Linked DNA regions of Homo sapiens: region 1 is linked to region 2. The links are contacts of gene promoters, found by promoter capture Hi-C in blood cells and fetal thymus (Javierre and others, 2016). All regions are on one chromosome and are shown on one strand. The core of a region is centred on a gene start or on the middle of the fragment in contact, and the rest is flanking DNA. Distances in the headings are between cores, read along the strand shown.

The links. Contacts are between HindIII fragments. The CHiCAGO score rates a contact against its expected background, and 5 or more counts as called.
Region 1: a contact is called between a fragment that was not itself captured here and the fragment with the promoter of DHX36 in region 2, in 2 of 17 cell types (M1 macrophages and M0 macrophages). The highest score is 6.6, in M1 macrophages.

What each region holds. Positions count from the first base shown.
Region 1 is chr3:154,727,877-154,731,395 of GRCh38, forward strand. No RefSeq gene overlaps it. Among named protein-coding and RNA genes, the nearest start is that of GPR149, 300 kb to the left of the region's middle. The HindIII fragment of the contact is 1,340 bases long and covers 1,275-2,614 here.
Region 2 is chr3:154,323,186-154,326,657 of GRCh38, forward strand. DHX36 (DEAH-box helicase 36) reads right to left here and starts at 1,302. Exons shown (of 25, transcript NM_020865.3): 1 at 989-1,302. The coding sequence starts at 1,231. RefSeq lists an enhancer at 1,195-1,489. The HindIII fragment of the contact is 15,842 bases long and covers 1-3,472 here.

The DNA of each region.
Region 1 (3,519 bases), core at 695-3,194, 410 kb after region 2:
TCAGGAATCATTCTCATAGTATATATTAATTTACTTATCTTTGTTTCTTGAGTTAGATACAATGCTCTGGAATTTTGGTGATAGGTGGGGTGCCAAGTCGGGAAATGATTAAGGATGAGTAAAAAATAGTTTTAGAATATCGACCATTTTAGAAGCAGTCAGAATAGGCTGGGATCCTCAGTAGCAAAAGCTGAAGGCATCCCAGTGGGCCACATGAGGTAGTGGGTCCAAGAGAGGGAGCGAAACCCAGTTTAAGCATCTTGCTGTTCTATCTGGTCTGCACCTTCTCAAGTGAGAATTCAGTGCAATTGCCCTTTGAGAAGAAGCAGATGAAGGTGTGTCTAGTCTGAGAAAGGGAGTTTCCTGCACTTTCCTTCACAGCAGGACTAGAAGAGCCATTCTCATGCCCATACCTTCCAGATCTATTTCTTGATTTCCAGTATCTTTTACTAGACTCCCCTGTGACTCTGACATTACTTTCTCATGAAGGAACAGAATAGGGGAGTATTTAGCAGGAAATGACTTCTGGGTGCTGAAATAGTGAATATAGGATTGTTCCTCTTCCAGAGCCCTACAAGCTGCTTATACCTTTTGTGGATGATGGTACAGATTGCCAAGTTTAGTCAACTACAGAGATAAACAGAGAAGTGAGAAAGGAAGGGGGAGGGGGGTGTTGGCTAAAAAACTACCATTGAGTACTATGCTCACCACCCGGGTAATAGAATCACCTGTATCCCAAACCTCAGCATCAAGCAATATACCCATATAACAACCATGCACATATACTGGCTGAATCCAAATTTTTTTTAAATAAGATTTTTAAAAGAAAATAATATAATTTAAATAATTTTTCTTCAAAGGAAAGAAAAGTTAAACCTGCCTCATCAGAACTTTGGGTGTGCAAGTCAAAAATTTAAAAGATATTTTAAAGTCTACAAATCTAATTACGAGCCCCTGTCTCCCTGAGTTGGTGTAAAGTTCAATTTGGAGTTCTGTAGTCTCTGGATTCTCATGAAGGGCCAAAACGTTAAGAAGGCCCCATTGGGCATTGATATGCTCGCCACTGGTTTTATCACCAAGATAACTTCTGTATCAGCCTGCATTTTCTTTCCATGGCTCGTGTTCCAGTGATCTCAATTATGCTTGGGGCATAAAAATTGATAGTTCAATAAATAATTCTTCCATATTGTTAAAAATGTTTTTAGGTGTTAGGTCTTTGAGGAGTACTGCTCCTCAAATATTAAAGACAGTGTGGTATTTATAATATTATCTTAAGCTTTTCCTATAGATTACAATATAGATGATTGGAAAAGCAAATTCACTACATATGGTTTTTAGTTTGTCACTAAATTTACTGTCAGTCTTTTTGAATGGGCGTGGTCACAAATTTAGTTGCTCTTACGTTTGATTCTCTGAAATACTGGAGAATGTTTAATATTTCTTTATCCTCAAATCAATAAAGCCGAATAAGTGTGATATTATGTTGAAATAACCTGCTATGGGCACTGGAGAAAGGAAGCCATAGCTCTGATCCCAGAACTCAGTACAAACTGCACAAGACCATCCCCAACCCAAGTGTCATAAGGGATAGTAATGACCCTTATTGAAGATCTTGCTGTTGGGCCTGTAACTGACCCCCCTGAAATTGTGTTTAAAATGCTGTATTTATTTGCATTTCTTTGGGGAATTCGTTGATAGCTTTTCTTAATATCTCAAAACTCCCATAAGAGCCCTATATAATTGCAATATTTTTCCAAGGGTCCCCCATGCTTAGTGGATTATCATGCCTGATTATGTTACTCAGCACTCTTAAGTGTGAATTTATTCTCAGACAATGATCCTTATAAAACTGATGATTAAATTGGATGAAGCAGCATTATTTTCGCTAGCAGAATCTAGAGGTCTGAAAATGTGCTTGCAGTTCTTGCAGTTGCTGACATGAATTCTTTTGGATTCTGAGGTGATTTAGTGTTTTTGTCCAGAAAACAAGAATCACATATTGTTCATCTTTCTAAGCCATAAAAAAGAATTGTGATGCATAACGATATTAAAATTCTATGAAAGAAACATATGACTGCAAAGTATTTCTGTTACCAAGGACTCAGAGTCACACCTCTGTTATTTTGCTTTTATGCCAAGGAGAACAAGGTCATTAAATGCAGCCCAGACCCACATATTGCATTCCCACTGGCTCAAGAGGATGCTGCCTGCAAAGAATGTAGGACAATTTAGTAAAACTGTTAAGAGCTAGCTGAAAAAGAATTTTAAAATGCAGAGGGTAATTTGACAAAATTGAAATCTTTTATAATAGCACTGCAAAGATTAAAATAATTGTAGCACAAGATAATTCTGTCACACTTTATCATTCTGTTCTTAACATCTGGAGATGTTATGAGGTAGATTTGGCATTCTACTATAATTTCTACCAGCATGTGTTATTATTTCTTTCCATCAACCCTGCAAGGCAAAGCTCACCCAAGTGCATTAAGTCATTCTCTGGCACATGATTTCTTTCAGTTATTTTAGAGCAGGAAATTTAATGGTACTCTAGCACTCTCCTGTGACCAGCTGAGCATAACACCTCCAGGCACTCTATGCCTTCGTCTCATAAGTAAGCTTAATGACATTAATTTGGCAAAGCAATCTAAAATTCTTTATAATCTGTCTCTCTCCTCTTTACTCATGCTTGCATAGGTATATACACCCACATCTGACTGAGTTATAAAATGCTTTCTAGTTGAAAGCAAAATATTTTCCTTTCATTGACACTGGAATGATAATTACTGCACTGTTGGTCATTAAACCAATAACTCTATAGGGAAATACCGCGATGAATGAACAAATTCCTTCTAAGACTTTTAATCAAAATATCTTCAATGAATATGAGTATGTGTCATAGTAAAGAATATGAGTATGTGTCATAGTAAAGTTGTTATTGAATTGCACATGTACATTTAAGATATTTACTATAACGTGGCTGGTCTATTTTCAAATAGCAACAAAAGCAAGATACAGAAAATGATGATTCATTATTCTGCCAAAGTCCTAGAGTGCTGAAATTTGCAGCCTTAGATTTAAAAAAGCAATATTCTCAGGCATTCTGTAAATACTCAGTGAGCTGAAAATGGGCCCAATTTCTTCCACACTTCCAATAGTCTGTTATCTTACTCAGATTTTATATAGCAAAAAAAAAAAAAAGGGTGGGGGGTGACTCTGCTACTGTGGAAAGCAGCTTGGAGATTTCTCAAAGAACTTAAAAAGATAACTACCATTTGACCCAGTAACCCTATTACTGGATGTATATCCAAAAGAAAACAAATTGTTCTAACAAAGAAACACATACACTCACATGTTCATCACAGCATTATTCACAATAACAAGGACATGGAATCAACCTAGGTGCATCAATGGTGGGTTGGATAAAGAAAGAGTGGTATACATACACCATGGAATACTACACAGCCATAAAAAAGAATGAAATCATGTCCTTTGAAGCAACATGGAAAGAGCTGAAGGCCA
Region 2 (3,472 bases), core at 52-2,551:
TTAGCCGGAGGTGGTGGCGGACGCCTGTAATCCCAGCTACTCGGGAGGCTGAAGCAGGAGAATCGCTTGAACTTGGGAGGCGGAGGTTGCAGTGAGCTAAGATCGTGCCACTGCACTCCAGCCTGGGCGACAGAGTGAGACCCTGTCTTAAAAAAAAAAAAAGTTGCCTAAATGATGATCTAATTACACTCTATAATACATTTTATAAGGTGCTTTTAAAAAGTCACCAAAGGCCTATACTAAGAAAGTTCCTGCTTAATGATAAAAATTATTTTTTATTAGAATTTTATTTACTAGTCACTCGGAGAACTTTGTTTCCCTTACTACAGATCTTTAAGACACAAATCAACCTGACAATCACCTGAAGAGAGGAGAGTAAGCCAAATCATCTCTGGAGATTCCTTTCATTTTCCTTTTCAAAGAGAATCTGCTCATCAATAGAAATTTCTCCACCCCAACATAAAAAACAAAAACCTAGGTTTGCAGATAATTTTAACACTAATAATAAAAGCTGGACTATTTTTCTGAATGATCCACATCCAAAACAGTGTCTGCCTGCTTTTGTTCCGCGCAAACCTATCTCAAATGTAGAAAGGTCGCTATGTGCTTCTTCACCAGGCAAAGACCTTAAAGTGACAATTATTATTCTAAGGGAAAGGACGGCCAGAGATACGACAACGACACTCCTAATAAAGTTAATTTCGGTTGGAACGTGAACTTAACATTTGCTTTGTCACAGTTCTCAAGTCCTTTAAGCAAAGTATATATTCAGCCTGCATAAATCCTGCCTGTTTTTGGTCAGATGAGCATGGCTAATGTTACGCAGTACACCCGCTACGGGGAGCGCCAGCATAATATATTTGCGCCTCATTTACATTTCACAAAACACGTGCATCACTTAAGAAACAAAACCAAGAAAAAGGGGGCAGCGGGAGAGAGAAGAAAACCTGTGCTGCCTCATCCTCTCCACTACTGAATCCGAGATTACCTCTTGCCTCTCCGCTTCCTTGTTCTTCTGCCCCTGTTTTTTCGCGTACCACATGCCGATTTCGCGGCCTTTCAGGTGCCCGGGATGCCGGCCCCTGCCGCCTCGACCACCCCCTCCGCCGCCGCCGCCTCCTCCGGAGCCTCGGTTACCTCCATGACCCCCTGCTGGCCCCCCTCCATAGCCCCCACCGGAGCTGCGGGGACCCCCATCACGGCCCCAGTTCTGATGGTAGTCATAACTCATTGTCCTGGCAGACTACAACCCGTCAGAACCAGCAACCGCTGGAAATGGCGTCCGGGCCCGGAAGCCACTGTGCGCCCACTTCCGTTTTGCTTCCGTAGCACCGCACAAGAGGGCGGGCCATTTAGCGTCACAAGCAGTGGTTTCTGGTGACGTCACGGGAGGACGACCCCGGTGGTCTGGAGGGTGGCAGGGATCAGGTTCTGTCTGAGCCCCCGAGTTGTTTATCTTTGTACCTCTGGAGCAACAGCCAGCCAAAGGCTCGTAGATTTTCTTTCCCTAGGCCCAGCAAGTGAGCCAATAGCTTTTGGTTTTTACTTTCTTATTCCTGGTAAATCCGCAGTTTTTTTGCACTTAGGTCCTAGGGTAGTAAACGTTGATTGAAACAAAAGAACCCTTGGATCAATTCGCCGTCTTCTAAAGAAAAGTCTCTAAAAAATGAGTTCTTCTAGTCTTGAAAACAGCCTGACAACTATTCAAATATGTAATTTAAAATCCCCTTACCTCCTTGAAAGTGTTGTCACTATTTAGTACGTTTATCCAATAGTGTTAAGATGAGCGTGTCTACCCAAATTCGGTGCAGAGCTCTTAGGCAATGTAAATAAACTACTTTGAAGATTCATGTGTTCATATGAAGCCACATACTGTTTATTAACCAGCACACTGAGTGTTTTGTACAAGCTGTTCTTGAATAATCAAGTAATTGGGCCACACAGGCTTGGATGTACACCAGGAGATATCCAGCTCATGTTACAGTTAACTGATGTAAAGGTGCTGGGAATACTCACTGAACAAAGCAAGTATGGCATGAGCTTTTATTTGCCTACAGTCTTAAGGGAAAGACAAAGGCTATCTTTGTGCAGTGAATTAAGAAAGGGAAATGCTGTATGCCAGGAAGGGGTCTACAATACACCATTGTGGCCTAAAAATTATTTTGAGCAAAGACATTTGAGTTTCTGAAATCTACCTGTCTAAATGCAGAACCACACGGAGGAATTCAAATCAAGCTCCTCCCTGGGAGGGAAACCCAGGAAGACTGACTCTTATCACTGGAGGTTAGAAGCTGGCAACACACTTGAATAGACATTGTCACAAAGCTATCATATCTGGCATCTGTTTTAAGGTGTCATTTATTTTTACTAAAAGTCATTTGTTTTTTCCATACGTGCTGTTTTCCCCTTTCCTTCCCTTTATAAGATGGTAGATAAGTCAGAACTCTACCTCCCTGAATCACCTTTTTCTGTGAACTCTATTATGTATGTGGTTAAGTCTGTCTTTTCTTTTGCTAATCTGTTTTGTCACTTTAAGTCTGGGGCCTGCAAACACTGAATCTAAGAAAGTAGACAAAAAGTATTTCCTCCCTAAGAGCCAAGAGATACTACAGCAAAAGAATTTAATTTTGGAGTTAGGTGAGTTATGCAACAACTTTTGAGATAAGTAGACTTTTGCCAGACTAATGGGCAGAAGAAAAGTATGGCAGGTGAAAGGAACAATGTGTAAAGACAGATAATGATGTGAGACATCGGAGAACTTAAAACAACTACCCTGAATCTTAAAGCCTGATGGGGAAGGCCAAAGAGGTAGATAGGGGTCTGATTATGGAAAACTTATGTGCCACTTAAAGAACAGTGATATGTTTATGCAGAGCAGTGGTTATTTTGACTGCTTCAATTGGAAATAAATAGCGGAGACAAGAGTGGATACAGGGAAACTAGTTAATGTGATGTAGGGGAGGCAAAATGGGATGACAGGGCATTACATGTGGAAAGAATTGGAATCAGGAGACATTAGAAGATAAAATTACTTAAATTTGATGATTCATTGAATGTGGAGAATTGGAAGGGTTAAACGACTCCAAGTTTAAGATTTGAATTATTAACCCATGGGGAGGCACATTGTATCCTGAGATGAGAAACACAGGACAAGGAACATTTTGGGGGTGAGGGGCAGGGCAAGTTAATGTGTTTTATTTTTACATGTGGACTTTGAGGAACTTATGAAACATACAAATGGAGTATCTAGAAAGCAGGCTGTAAGAGTTAAAAGCACAGAGGCCAGGTGTGGTGGCTCACACCTGTGATCCCAGTACTTTGGGAGGCCAAGGTGGGCAGATAACTTGAGGCCAGGAGTTTGAGACCAGCCTGGCCAACATGGTGAAACCGTCTCTACTAAAAATACAAAAATTAGCTGTGCATGGTGGTGCATGCCTGTAATCCCAGCTACTCAGGAGGCTGAGGCAGGAGA